3 separate regions of the Homo sapiens genome follow, and regions 1 and 2 are each linked to region 3. The links are contacts of gene promoters, found by promoter capture Hi-C in blood cells and fetal thymus (Javierre and others, 2016). All regions are on one chromosome and are shown on one strand. Each heading gives the region's core, a stretch centred on a gene start or on the middle of the fragment in contact. The rest is flanking DNA. Distances are from core to core; before and after follow the strand shown.

The links. Contacts are between HindIII fragments. The CHiCAGO score rates a contact against its expected background, and 5 or more counts as called.
Region 1: the fragment with the promoter of ZNF417 here is called in contact with the fragment with the promoter of ZNF324 in region 3 in 3 of 17 cell types (naive CD8 T cells, neutrophils and fetal thymus); the score reaches 6.9 in naive CD8 T cells.
Region 2: a contact is called between the fragment with the promoter of ZNF154 here and the fragment with the promoter of ZNF324 in region 3, in 4 of 17 cell types (neutrophils, fetal thymus, total CD4 T cells and 1 more). The highest score is 9.9, in neutrophils.

The regions. Positions count from the first base shown.
Region 1 is chr19:57,915,342-57,919,900 of GRCh38, forward strand. ZNF417 (zinc finger protein 417) reads right to left here and starts at 1,251. Exons shown (of 3, transcript NM_152475.3): 1 at 1,038-1,251. The coding sequence starts at 1,070. RefSeq lists enhancers at 1,008-1,297, 1,316-2,171, 1,568-1,627. The HindIII fragment of the contact is 13,199 bases long and covers 1-4,559 here.
Region 2 is chr19:57,706,219-57,710,851 of GRCh38, forward strand. ZNF154 (zinc finger protein 154) reads right to left here and starts at 2,986. Exons shown (of 3, transcript NM_001085384.3): 1 at 2,721-2,986. The coding sequence starts at 2,753. RefSeq lists enhancers at 2,574-3,213, 2,957-3,086, 3,107-3,166. The HindIII fragment of the contact is 9,236 bases long and covers 1-4,633 here.
Region 3 is chr19:58,464,141-58,468,747 of GRCh38, forward strand. It overlaps ZNF324 (zinc finger protein 324), which reads left to right and starts at 2,940. Exons shown (of 4, transcript NM_014347.3): 1 at 2,940-3,043. RefSeq lists enhancers at 2,671-3,287, 3,288-3,902, 4,321-4,440 and silencers at 2,930-2,979, 3,060-3,189. The HindIII fragment of the contact is 6,014 bases long and covers 1-4,607 here.

The sequences.
Region 1 (4,559 bases), core at 1-2,500, 550 kb before region 3:
AATGCACAGCCCTCGGCCTGCTTACTCTTCCAGGGAGAGCTCCACCTCACACTTTGTTCCAGACAGGTTCCATCCTCCCGGCTCCGTCCATCTCCAGGCCATTGCCTGCGCCCCTCCCTGTGCTTGTTGCTCTCCCCACCGCATCCCACGGGTGTCAGAAACAGGTGAAACCGTCTTTGCAAAATTATAACTGAGGAAATTATGACAGTGAAAGAAATCAGACCTTACTGACTCCGTCTTGCTTCCAACCTTTCAGCTGTCCTTGTTCATTCCTGGGTATAGGCTGAATTAACTTAGGGAAGGAATTCAGTTCATGGTTTCACTCTGAAACAAAATTGATAATAGCCCTTTCCTGAAAAGACCCCCTTCTTGCCTGGAGAACAGCCTGCCTTTGCAGGACTAACGAATTAGCTACAAGGTTAGAAATTACCGTTTAGGGGTCATGCAGCTTCTGACTCCAAGAGTCTGAACCTCCCCAAGTTGCTCCTGAAGATAAATCACTATTGTAAAACCTAAGATCAGTGCTTGAGGTATTTTGCAGATCCTGCACTGGATGGATCAGCTGACAACACACAGACCGGTAATCTGGGTCAATCAGTTCTGCCATCCCACCCAGAACAGAAAACAGCATGAAAAACTCACTTTAACCCTCTATGAATCCATCTCAGGTCCCAACCCTTACCGCCAAATTAATGTTGAAAACTCTGATCCCGGAATGCTAATGGAGACTGATTTGAGTAATAATAAAACTCCTGTCTCCAGAACAGCCTGACGGCTCTGCGTCAATTACTATTTCTCCATCGCAATTCTCCAGTCTTCATAAATCGGCTCTGTCTAGGCAGCTGGCAAGGTGAACCCACTGGACAGTTACACAGGGACCCCCACTGGACAGTTACACAGGGACCCCTCCTGCGAGCGCCTCAGTGTTCCTACGCCGGGTACCGGCTACAGACCCGTGAGCAGGAGCCGCTCCCTCGCTGGTTTAGGACCTGGGTGACGATGGGGTGACCTGAGGGCACAGAAGGCGCCACAATTACCTGAGTCGGGCGCCTCGGCGCAGCCGCTGCCATCGGACTACTTGGGGAAGCACGGCCCGGGAGCAGTGGTCGCCGTCACGGGGCTGCAGAGCCGCCTCTGGGCACCGAGGACGATTCCTCTCCACCTTCTAGGTTCAGTCACCGCGGTCCCCCCCCAGCACTCAGGGGCCACAAACTGGGGAAACACCCGCGTCACCGATACACAGCCGCTACTAGAGACCCCGGAAGTCTCAGCCTTACGTTACGTGCACACGTGGAAATGCCTTCTTTCCGAGTGCTCATTGGCTCTGACCGGCTGTCGTTTAACGCAGAGCTTTCTGGGTAATGTAGTTCCCCACTTTCCATGGCGCTAAAAAGAGCGATACCCAGAGTCCATCTGCAGGAAAAGCCCGCCATCAGGTCAGGGGTTCTCCTTAAAAAGCGCACCCTTCTGGCCGGGCGCAGTGGCTCAAGCCTGTAATCTCAGCACTTTGGAAGGCGGAGGTGGGCGGATCACGAGGTCAGGAGATGGAGACCATCCTGGCTAACACGGTGAAACCCCGTGTCTACTAAAAATTCAAAAAAAAAAAAAGTTAGCTGGGTGTGGTGGCGGGCGCCTACAGTCACAGCTACTCTGGAGGCTGAGGCTGGAGGAGAATGGCGTGAACCTGGGAGGCAGAGCTTGCAGTGAGCTGGGATCGCGCCACTGCCCTCCAGCCTGCGCGACAGAGCAAGACTCTGTCTCAAAAAAAAAAAAAAAAAAAAAAAAAAAAAAAAAAAAAAAGGCGCCTTTCTAGGGCAGAGGAGGGGTCTCACCTAGCCTTAGAAGCCGTATTGAGATTCCTGGAGACTAGTGTCTGTAACTAATCACTCAAGAATCTGGAAAAATACTGTTTCAGATTTCGGGGAGCGCAAGGTAAATAATAGGGAGCTCAAGCTAAAACTATTATTTAGGATTCTCCTAAAGGCTAAAAATCCAAATTACCACACCGTTTGAAACAGTCGTTCAGTCGCAAAATACCTGCACTGGAAGCAGAGGCTGATAAGCGTTGTTGTGTTATAATGTGTCTGAAGGCCCTCAGAAGCCTTAGAGTGCCTAAGGCAAATGAAGGAAGTTAGGGATGTGCTCCCCTATAGCAGGAGTGCAAAGCTGAATCTCTGTGATTCCTACAGAAAACAACTCTCCTGCTGATAGAATCTGTGAAAGGAAAATCTTGTGGCCTCAAAATTACTAAGCTAAAGGGAAAAGTCAATCTGGGAACTGCTCAGGGCAAACTTGCCTCCCATTCTATTCAAAGTCTTCCCTCTCCTCACTGAGATAGATGCCTATTCTGATTGCCTCCTTTGGAAGGACTTATCAGAAATTAAAAAGAATCCAACTATTTGTCTCTCTACCTGTCTACCTGTGACCTGGAAGTCCCCTCCCTGCTTCGAGTTGTTCCCGCCTTTCTGGTCGGAACCAATGTACTTCTTACATATATTCACTGATGTCTCATGTCCCCCTAAAATGTATAAAACCAACCTGTACCCCAACCACCATGGGCACATGTCGTCAGGACTTCCTGAGGCTGTGTCACGGGCATGTGTCCTCAACCTTGGCAAAATAAACTTTTTCTTTTATGAGACGGAGTCTCGCTCTTTGGTCAGGCTCGAGTGCAGTGGCGCGATCTCGGCTCACTGCAACCTCTGCCTCTCGGGTTCAAGTGATTCTCCTGCCTTAGCCTCCCGAGTAGCTGGGAGTACAGGCACGTGGCATCACGCCAATTTTTGTAGTTTCAGTACAGACGGGGGTTTCACCTTGTTTAGGATGGTCTCGATCTCCCTCGTGATCTGCCTGCCTCACCCTCCAATGTGTTGGGGTTACAGGCATGAGTCACCACACCTGGCCAGCAAAATAAACTATTTAAATTAACTGAGACCTGTCTCAAATTTGGGGGGTTCACAAATCATTATAGCGTTCAATTAATTGAACAACACTTTTTCCCACTTAGTATCCTTTACTTGATATTCTAACTTACATTCAACTCCTTTTAGTAATTTGACATCAGTCTTATAAAGAACAATAAGGCTGGGCACGGTGGCTCACGCCTGTAATCCTCGCACTTTGGGAGGCCGAGGCAGGCGGATCACCAGTTCAGGAGATCGAGACCATCCTGGCTAACATGGTGAAACCCCGTCTCTACTAAAAATACAAAAAAAAAATTAGCCGGGTGTGGTGGCACACGCCTGTAGTCCCAGCTACTCGGGAGGCTAAGGCAGGAGAATCACTTGAACCCGGGAGGCAGAGGTTGCTGTGAGCTGAGATCGCGCCATTGCACTGCAGCCTGGCGACAGAGCGAGACTCTCTCAAACAAAGAAACAAAAAACAATAAAATAAATGGTATCTTGGTAGTAGTGATGGCTACAGTCTGTAAAAAGTAAAGTACAGGTTCCTCTTCAAAGACTTTCCTCCCATCTAATTAGGAATAAATAGTAACTTCTCTTAGAAGCAAAATTTATTCAAAGACCTGTGCTAACATTCTTAAATATCTTCTAGCCGTAATTAAAAAAATCCATGTACTTTATGTTCTTAGCTCCCACAATTTAGCCTAAATATTTGCCCTGGCATGTTTACACTGGTCCAAGCAAGCATTGTCATAGCCTGTTCCTCTTATTTGAAGGTGTTTTTGCCTTTCTTAGCATTCCATAAGTTAATTCCTCCTTCGTTTTCCTCTTGCCTTTGCCTCTTTTAAAAATGTTCTAAGTTGCTAGTCAATCAGGACAAATACAGAATGTGAATTTGTATTTAGCCAGTGGAAACCGGACACAGCAGTAAGGTGGATGCGTCAGGCAGGTTATAAATGACCCTGTCTCCTTTGTTCAGTGTAATCTCACAGCAAAACTGCTGGCGAGTATACCGTTTCTGCAGAAAGTAAAAATGGCCTTGCTGAGGAAATTAAATTTATGTTCAATGCTATTTCTTTCTTTCTTTTTTTTTTTTTGAGACGGAGTTTCGCTCTTGTTGCCCAGGCTGGAGAGCAATGGCGCGATCTTGGCTCACCACAACCTCCGTCTCCCAGGTTCAAGTGATTCTCCTGCCTCAGCCTCCTGAGTAGTTAGGATTATAGGCATGCGCCACCATGCCCAGCTAATTTTGTATTTTTAGTAGAGATGGGGTCTCTCCATCTTGGTCAGGCTGGTCTTGAACTCCCGACCTCAGGTGATCCTCCCACCTCGGCCTCCCAAAGTGCTGGGATTATAGGCATGAGCCACCGCGCCCGGCCAAGTCAAGTGCTATTTCTTTACGGCACTAAAGAACAAGCATTTCAAACAGTACTTAAAGTTGGTGCTCTCCATCTGTTCATACTGGGCATTTGTAAAAGCCATGAGTTCATGTCATTGATGGGAAGTGATTATCATTGATTTGAGAGGAGGGAGTGTTCTGCATGAAAAATTAATATTACATAAGAGAAACAGTTGTAAATTGCAAGATACAAAAGCCTATTAATACTGACTAGGTAGGCTGGGCGTGGTGGCTCACGCCTGTAATCCCAGCACTTTGGG
Region 2 (4,633 bases), core at 1,736-4,235, 760 kb before region 3:
AGGGCATCCACTAGTGGTAGCAGCCCCAAATCCTATGAGGGCTCCCTGGCTGGCTCCATTCTTTGCCTCAGATTTAGGCCACACAGAACCACATGTGCATCTCAGATACCCATGGCCCTATTCCACTTCCGTGCTGCACTTGCTAGCCCCTCAGCAGTAACAACCTTCCTCTGTCCACTTAACACTCAAAGACTAGCTCCACTGATCACCTACCCCAGGCCAAGTGACTGTCACAGATGACCACATTGGCACCTGGCCTTATCCTCCAGGTTGAATAAACACCCTAGGCCCCATCAAAGTCATCAAAAAATCCTGGTGATTCCACAGAGTGCTGAATAAGCACAAAGGAAAAAAAGGACAGCCATTTGCCTCAAATACACCTATGCCTCTGCATCCACCTTATATCCACTCTTCCCTTGAAAGTGTATGCCACCTGCCCAACTATCCTCTCCAAACACCCTACCTCCATAGCCACTAACCTCCCTTACCTCTGTTTAGAAAGCCCAAGAATATCACCCACTTATCCAACCAAAAGGCTTGGTCCTTAGCCCCCATTCTGCCCTTCCTGGCCAAATAACCTGTACCACCATGCCTAAAGATTAACCCTTGTAGGCCGGATGCGGTGGCTTACGCCTGTAATCCCAGAACTCTGGGTGGCTGAGGCGGGTGGATCACCTGAGGTTGGGAGTTCAAGACTAGCCTGACCAACATGGAGAAACCCTGTCTCTACTAAATAAATACAAAATTAGCCGGGCGTGGTGGCGCATGCCTGTAATCCCAGCTACTCGGGAGGCTGAGGCAGGAGAATTGCTTGAAGCCGGGAGGCGGAGGTTGTGGTGAGCCAAGCTCGCGCCATTGCACTCTGGCCTGGGCAACAAGAGAGACACTCCATCTCAAAAAAAAAAAAAAAAAATAGAACAACCCTTCTAAATGTAATCCACAGCTCACTCACCTTAGTCCACACAATGACCACCACATTTTGGATGTCTCCATTCTGAAGCACTCCCCAGATTTCCAGACCTGGGTGTTCAGCCACCTACTTAATGCCTACTTAATGTCTCTGAAACATCTCAAACTCTTACATGACCAAATAAAGCTCCTGTTGTCTCCAGTGAATATTACTGTTAATACCAACTTCTCCATCTCAGTTGAAGAACCATGGGGTCATCGCTGAATCCTGTTTCACTCCCTCGCTGTCTACATCAGAAAATTTAGTTGCTCCCTTTAAAAATTTGCATCCAGAATGCAACACATCTCCTAATCAATGACTCTGGTCCATTACCCTGGACTGGCTGTAGCTTCCACTCTGATCTTCTTTCCTCTTCCCTCAACCCCACAGTCTGCTCTCCACGCTAACGGGATGGACCCTGTTAGGACTTTGGTAAGATCACCTCCCTCTTGTAACCCAAATCTCTCATTACCTCCAGAATAGGTACCCAACTTCTCAGGCAGCCACTGCAGTCCTGACTCCTTCCCCCTGCTCTTTGTTCCCAGCTAAAAGGAAACAGATCTATGGTTTCCTCAAAAATCTCAGCTTAGTTTTACTAAGCACTTGCGCCTCCTGATACCAGTGCCAGAGATAACCTTTCACAAGTTTCCACTGGCTGACAAAAATGGGAACACCTCAGTATAACCCCTGTAACCTCTGGCATGGACTTAAGAGCCCTGGGCTTGGAATTTCTCCAGGGCACCAGACCCAGGATTGGGGTAACAGCACTTAAGAATACTAGGAAACCACAATCCCAAGAACATGGGGGTAGAGGCTACTGAGGGACCGAACACTCTCCACTTCCCTATGTGAGTTCCATACGCCCTTCTACAACTGGGAGAACCAGGGAAAGAGGAATGCATCCCTGGTGAGGCTAGATGAGCTCAAGCCTCCCTGTAGCCCTGCCTGGCCCTGAACTCAGGCTGGCTGTTTTACTTTCTGGTCTCAGTGCTGTCACCTCTTGCCAACTGTAGGGCAATGAAAAAAAGATGTAGCCTCCCACTATCTCAATGTCCTCATCGCCCCATCGCTGCTCTTCCTGTGAACAGTCTTTGGAAAAGTTTTTAAACCCTAACATAGGGCGGGCACGGTGGCTCACGCCTGTAATCCCAGCACTTTGGGAGGCCGAGGCAGGAGGATCACTTGTCAGGAGTTCCAGACCAGTCTGGCCAAAATGGTGAAATCCCGTCTCTACTAAAAATACAAAAAATTAGCCGGACGTTGTAATCCCAGCTGCAGGCTTGTAATCCCAGCTGCTGGGGAGGCTGAGGCAGGAGAATCGCTTGAACCCGGGAGTCGGAGGTTGCAGTGACCCGAGATCGCGTCATTGCACTCCAGCCTGGGCGATAAGAGCGAAACTCCGTCTCAAAGAAAAAAAAACTAACATAAATGGCGTCCCTCCTTTGTTCAGAACTCTCCGTGGCTTCTAGCATCCTCACAATGACAGTACAACCCTAGGAGTAACTCCGCCTCATATTCTTCGTTCCCTGCAGAAAACAGCTTTCCGAATTCTCCTGGCTCAGTCGCGCCTCAACCTTTGCACGCGCCGGTTCCTCCGCCTGTCACGCTCTCCCACACCTCGTCACACGCAGTGTCAAAAAAAGGGCCCCACCCACGAACGCCTCAGTGTCCCCGACCCTGGGCAGCGGGGACTCGAGCAGGCGCCCCTCACTGATGGCTTTAGAACGTGGGTGGGGGAAGGTGTGTGAGGACGGGAAGACGCCGCACTCACCTGAGTTGGCGTCCTCAGAGTGGCCGCTGCCATCAGACTCTGCGGGTAGAGCTGGGCCGGGAGCGACGGGCGACATTGGTAGGGACCCGGGGACAGCGGTCCCTATCCCAGGCCTGACGTGGGTCCCCCAGGGCGGCGTCGCCAAGGCTTAGACGCTTTCGTGCAGGAGGGACGACGACTCCCCTCACGCCTTCGTGGCCCCAACTCGGCGCTCTGCTATCTCTGATCCGGTGAACACACCTCAGAGAAGCTAAAATGGCCGCCACGAAGAGGCCCCCCCAAAAGTCCCGTCCTTTCTTTTTGTGACTCTCAAGGAAAGTCGGTTTTCTGAGCTCTTACTGGCTTAGTAGCGTGGCGTTCAACGCAGAGCATTCTAGGTAATGTAGTTTTCATAGATCCCGAGGTGGGTGCCGGGGACCCTTTGCACCAACCTCTTGGAGTAAAAGCGAAGCTCCAGGGCGCTGGGCGATGAGAAATGGCTTATCCAAGTCCTAGGGCAGTGGAGGGACTTCGCCCTTTCTTAAATGGGTCGTAATCAGACAGCATATTAGAGGTGCCATCTGCAACTGATCACCCAAGTGTTTGGGGAATATTATTTCAAACTTCATAAAGTTCAGCAGGCTCCCAGAGGCTAAAATTATTATCAGACGCTCCCTAAGGCTGCCAATCCAAATATGTACATCATTCCATAGAGCCATTCAGACACGAAATATATCCACTAGTAGGGAAGCTAATAAACATTACCATATAAGTTTATTCCTTTTTTTTTTTTTTTAAGACAAAGTTTCCCTCTGTCCCCCAGGCTGGAGTGCAGCGGCGCCATCTGGGATCACTGCAACCTCCGCCTCCCGGGTTAATCGATTCTCGTGCCTCAACCTTCCAAGTAGCTGGGACTATAGGCGCGCGCCACCACGCCAGGCTAATTTTTTGTATTTTCAGTAGAGACAGGGTTTCACTATGGTGGTCCCAAATTCCTGGCCCCAGGTGATCTGCCCGCCTCGGCCTCTCAAAGTGCTGGGATTACAGGCGTAAGCCACCGTACCCAGCCTCTATCATATTACATTTCAAATGTATGCACTCCGAAGCATTGAAGTCAGTCTGTGCACTTTTGGTCAGGGACAGGTGAAAAACTACTTCAGATAGTGGCATGATAGTGCTTCTAGAAGATAGAAGAGAAATGTTAGATCACCTTGAAACAGTAGTACAAAGGTAGAATTCTGTCTGATTCCAACAGAAAACATCTTTTGCCTGCATAGTCAATTATTGTGTCCAATTACTGTGTCCAGTCAATAACTGTGTCCAATTCACTGAGCAACGCTTTTATCCATTTCATAATTCTTACTTGATATCTGAGATATATTCCTTCTAGAAGTCTAACATCAATCTCAAAAAACAATGAAAGAAATGCTACTTTGATAAGAGACAAAGGGGAGAGGTGGGACTTCTTAATCAGAAAGCCGGTGAAATGCACTTGAAGGAAGTGAGAAATGAGCCATGTGGGTATTTTTAGAATAAATTCCAGGCAGAAGAAGCAGGTTACTAGAGTGCCTGGATGGATGGAGACTTCACAGGGCATTTCAGCATTGGAGGGCCTAGGGCTCCAACCCAGCAGGCCTTCATCTGCTTTGCTGGCTGCAGAGACACTCAGGGTATATAGGTGAGAAATCTCTTCTTTTTTTTTTTTCTTTTTTTTTGAGATGGAGTTTCACTCTTATTGCCCAGGCTGGAGTGCAATGACGCAGTCTTGTTTCACTGCAACCTCTCCACCTCCTGGGTTCAAGCGATTATCTTGCCTCAGCCTCCCAAGTAGCTGGGACTACAGGCGCACGCCATGACACCCAGCTAATTTTTGTATTTTTAGAAGAGACGGGGTTTCACCATGTTGGCCAGGCTGGTCTCGAACCACTGACCTC
Region 3 (4,607 bases), core at 1,690-4,189:
TGGTTGCAGGCACCTGTAATCCCAGCTACTCAGGAGGCTGAGGCAGGAGAATCACTTGAACCTGGGAGGCAGAGATTGCAGTGAGCAGAGATCACGCCATTACACTCCAGTCTGGGCCACAGAGCAAGACTCCATCTCAAAAAAAAAAAAACACACACACACTAAAAAAGAAAATATCACTCAGGCCAGGTGCAGTGGCTCACACTTATAATCCCAGCACTTTTGGAGGCCAAGGCAGGCGGATCACTTGAGGTCAGGAGTTCGAGACCAGCCCAACATGGCAAAACCTTGTCTCTACTAAAAATACAAAAATTAGGTGGGTGTGATGGCATGCACCTGTAATTCCAACTATTCGGGAGGCTGAGGCACGAGAATCTCTTGAACCCAGGAGGTAGAGATTGCAGTGAGCCAAGATTGTTTCACTGTGCTCCAGCCTGGGTGACAGAGTGAGATGCTGTCTCAAATAATTAAATTAAAAATTAAAAAATGAAACGTTTGAAGAGTTAAAATGCCTCCAAATATTCATACATTGCTTAAAATGGTAATAATGCCTCTAAGCATTTGATCAAATCACAACTTTAATACTACTTTTTTTTTTTTTTGAGACAGAGTCTTGCTCTGTCACCCAGGCTGGAATGCAGTGGTGTGATCTCGGCTCACTGCAAGCTCCACCTCCCAGGTTCATGCCATTCTCCTGCCTTAGCCTCCTGAGTAGCTGGGACTACAGGCGCCCGCCACCACACCCAGCTACTTTTATTTTTGTATTTTTTAGCAGAGACTGGGTTTCACCGTGTTAGCCAGGATGGTCTCGATCTCCTGACCTCAAGATCCGCCCACCTCGGCCTCCCAAAGTGCTGGGATTACCGGCGTGAGCCACAGCGCCCGGCCACAGCTTGAATAGTTCTAAGTGTTGGGGTTTTTTTTCTTCAGGGTTTTTGAACTTTAATACTTCCTTTTTTTTTTTTTTTTTTTTTTGAAACGGAGTCTCGCTCTGTCGCCCAGGCCGGACTGCGGACTGCAGTGGCGCAATCTCGGCTCACTGCAAGCTCCGCTTCCCGGGTTCACGCCATTCTCCCGCCTCAGCCTCCCCAGTAGCTGGGACTACAGGCGCCCGCCACCGCGCCCGGCTAATTTTTTGTATTTTTAGTAGAGATGGGGTTTCACCTTGTTAGCCAGGATGGTCTCGATCTCCTGACCTCATGATCCACCCGCCTCGGCCTCCCAAAGTGCTGGGATTACAGGCGTGAGCCACCGCGCCCGGCCCTGAACTTTAATACTTCTAAGTGTTGGGGTTTTTTTTTTCCCCCTCAGGGTTTTTGTTTGTTTTTTCCTGAGACAGGGTCTCTCTCTTACCCAGGCTGGAGTGCAGGGGCTCCATCATAGCTCACTGCACACTCCAACTCCTGAACTCAATCCTCCCACCTCAGCCTCCCATGTAGCTGGTATTACAGGCATGCAAGACCATGCTCAGCTAATTTTTATATTTTTTTATAAAGATGGGGTCACATTTTGTTGCTCAGGCTGGTCTCAAACTCCTAGGCTCCAGTGATCGCTCACCTTGGCCACCCAAAGTGCTCAGATTCCAGGTGTGAGCCACTGCGCCCAGTCCTGAAATGTTCTTAAATTCTTTCAAAGTAGCAAAATTTATATTAAAACATTCCAAACATGATGAGCTCCCTTGCTCTACAAGGATTTACAAGTAGAATCAATTAGGTGGACAGTTATAGCTGACAGTTGACAGAGAGATAGTTATAGATGGAGGTAGGTATAGAGGGAGGGAGGCAAAAAGAGTTAAGGAACTGGACAGCTGAGAACTGTCTACAGGTTCCAAAAACAAGACAAAGAACCTTTTATTATCTGCCAAACAAGACAGTCTACATTGAGACTGCTCTGCCTTTCGTTTTTATGTGTCAAAGACACTTAAATTGGCCTGTAATCCCAGCACTTTGGGAGAACGAGGTGGGCGGATCACCTGAGGTCAGGAGTTCAAGACCAGCCTGGCCAACATGGTGAAACTCCATCTCTACTAAAAAATACAAAAATTAGCCAGGCATGGTGGCGCACACCTGTGGTCCCAGCTACTACGGAGGCTGAGGCGGGGGGATCACTTGAACCTGAAGGCAGAGGTTGCAGTGAGCCGAGATTGTGCCACTGCACTCCAGCACGGGCAACAGAACAAAGACCCTGTTAAAAAAAAAAAAAAAAAACTTAAATGAGTCCCAAGAAAAAAGGAAAAAAGAATGAATATTGTGATGTGTGGGGCAAGACAAGATCTAGATGGTCTAAGGACAAGCAAATCTGGGGAATTAACTTCTGCCCATCCAAATTACAAGGAAAACAGATGCTTTGGGCAAGTGTCGAGGAACAGTCTCATACTTAAGACAAATGTAGGCTTACGGGCTGAGAATTCTTGGTGTAAAGGTTGAAAACGGACCTTAAACCTTTACGGGACATTGACACAGAGAGGTCAAACCCGCGCCCAGGACGCACAGTCAGTGAGAGGCAGAGCTGGGAAGGGAACCCGGAGCTCCAGGCATCGGCTCCTCCACCTCCACCTGCGCTACCCGGTGCATTTTCTCCTCCGTGCTCACTGCTGGTGTTGCCTCTTGGAACCTCGGCAGTTTCTGCTTTCGCACCTGCAGGGTTTAGTCTCCGGGACTGCTTGGGAGGACACCTGGAATGCCGAAGGCAGGACTACACACCGGGCGAATCCACCAGCGCCACCAAGCCCTTGAAAACCCGAGGCCGCCGCGCGACTCCATTTCCCAGCGCCCCGCGCGGCAGGGGCTTGGACGTTGCCAAGGAGACCGGTAGTGGCCCCGCCTCCACGCAGGGAAACAGGCGGGAACCACGTGACCCGGAAGGCTGTACGCAAGCGTCCGCGGCGCGCACTGGGCCAATGAGAACCGAAGGGCTGGACTTCCGGCGGTGGGACTGTCACTTCGCCGCCCGCGTCAGGCCACACCGGTGGTCTGGGCTGGGGACCGCGGGTCGGGTCCGGTTTCCAGGGGGTTCCTGGTGCTCGAGGCTGGCGGCGAGGAAGGTACTGGCTGAGGGCCCGCGTCGGGCCCGCCCTGCGCACGCGTCGTGATCAAGGGCGCCGGCCGCCGGCCGCGCCCCCAAGCCTCTGTTTCTCAGAGTGCGTCGTGGGCGTCCAGGGGACTGTCGGGCCGCGGCGGGAGCCATGCGCTCTCCCACCGTGCGGCAGCCCAGGAGGCTGCGCGCTGGGCGTTCCACGTCCATGATGGCCGGGGAGACTGAGGCGCGGGGCGGCCCCGGGACGCTGCTGGCGGGGAAAGGCTGGGTGGTCCACGCCTTTCTTCCCTCCCAGCTGCGGGTTCCGCTGGCGGCGGTGGCGCTGACAAGCCCGCGTCGGGGAAGCAGGGGAGTCCCTGCTCACACAGACCGCGCCCTCACGGAGGGAGGCCGCTTCCTAGACCTCGCCTAGTCGTCTTTCCTCTCCCTGCCCTGGGGGGGTTGCGGGGGTCAGTGCAAACTCCTGCGTCCAGGGCACTGGTGAGCTCCCGAGTTCGGGCAGCCAGGGGGCTGAGGTCCCGAAGGAGGCTCCGAGGGGAGAGTCCTGCGTGTGCAAAACCTGGGAGGGGAGCCGAAGCCCAGGTGCTTCTGGGACTGAGCTCTCTCGATGTGGAGCTGGAGTAGAGGGGATGTGTGCGGCTGCAGTATCAGGCGAGGGAGTGGGCTTTATCTCGAGGGCGTCGGGAGACATAGAAGTTTTGAACAGAATCAGGACATCCTCTGAGGACTTTAAAACGGTTCCACCGTTTGTTGCGTGGAGAACAGACATGCAGGGGTGTCGGCATGAAGGGAAGAACCGACTGCCACAGTCTGGGCAGCAGTGGAGGTGGGCGACCAGGTGAATTCTGGTGGATCTGCGGATGCATCAGGTGTGGGCTGTTTGAAGAACTAAGTACCCCATGTTGTTCAGCCTGAGCGCCTGGAAGAAGAGAGCTGCTGTAGATAGAAAGGAGAATTGAAAGGAAAGCAGGTTTCCTTCAGGGGAAAGATCAAGAGTCTGGGATGTCCCAGGTTGGTCATGTCACTGGACCTGACGTTGTTGGCGTCCTGGGCTGTGGACAGGGCCTATGAATTGGACTGAGGAATGGGCAGGGACTCAGCCAGGTGTGGGCAGTTATGGCTTGAGGGTAAAGAAGACCAGCTGGGATGCCTGGGGCTATTGGGAAGAGCCTAGCACCTAACTGAGGAGGGGAGGGTGGCAACAGAGAGGGGAAGAAAGGGGACACCGGGTGAAAGGAGGAAGGGATTGAGTTCCTCTGTGTTCACAGGTTGTTGAGGCTGCTCCCCTGTGGCGACTGGTGAGAATCATCCAGTCCCTCAGGCTGGATGAGCAGCCTGGAAATGTCAGGCAAGCAGGCTCAGCAGGGGAGGGTCCCAGTGATGGGTATGCCTGGGAAGCCCCTGCTGGGACTCACAGTTTCTTGCTACAAGAGCAGGAAGGGTGCATCTGGGGAGGGTCATGAGTGGTCATGCTGAGTCACGAGTGGACACCTGGGGCTGCTCTTGGTGTGGCAGCTGAGGGCCCAGCCAGGACTTGTTCTAGCTTGCTTGTGTATGGCGTTGCCAGTGGG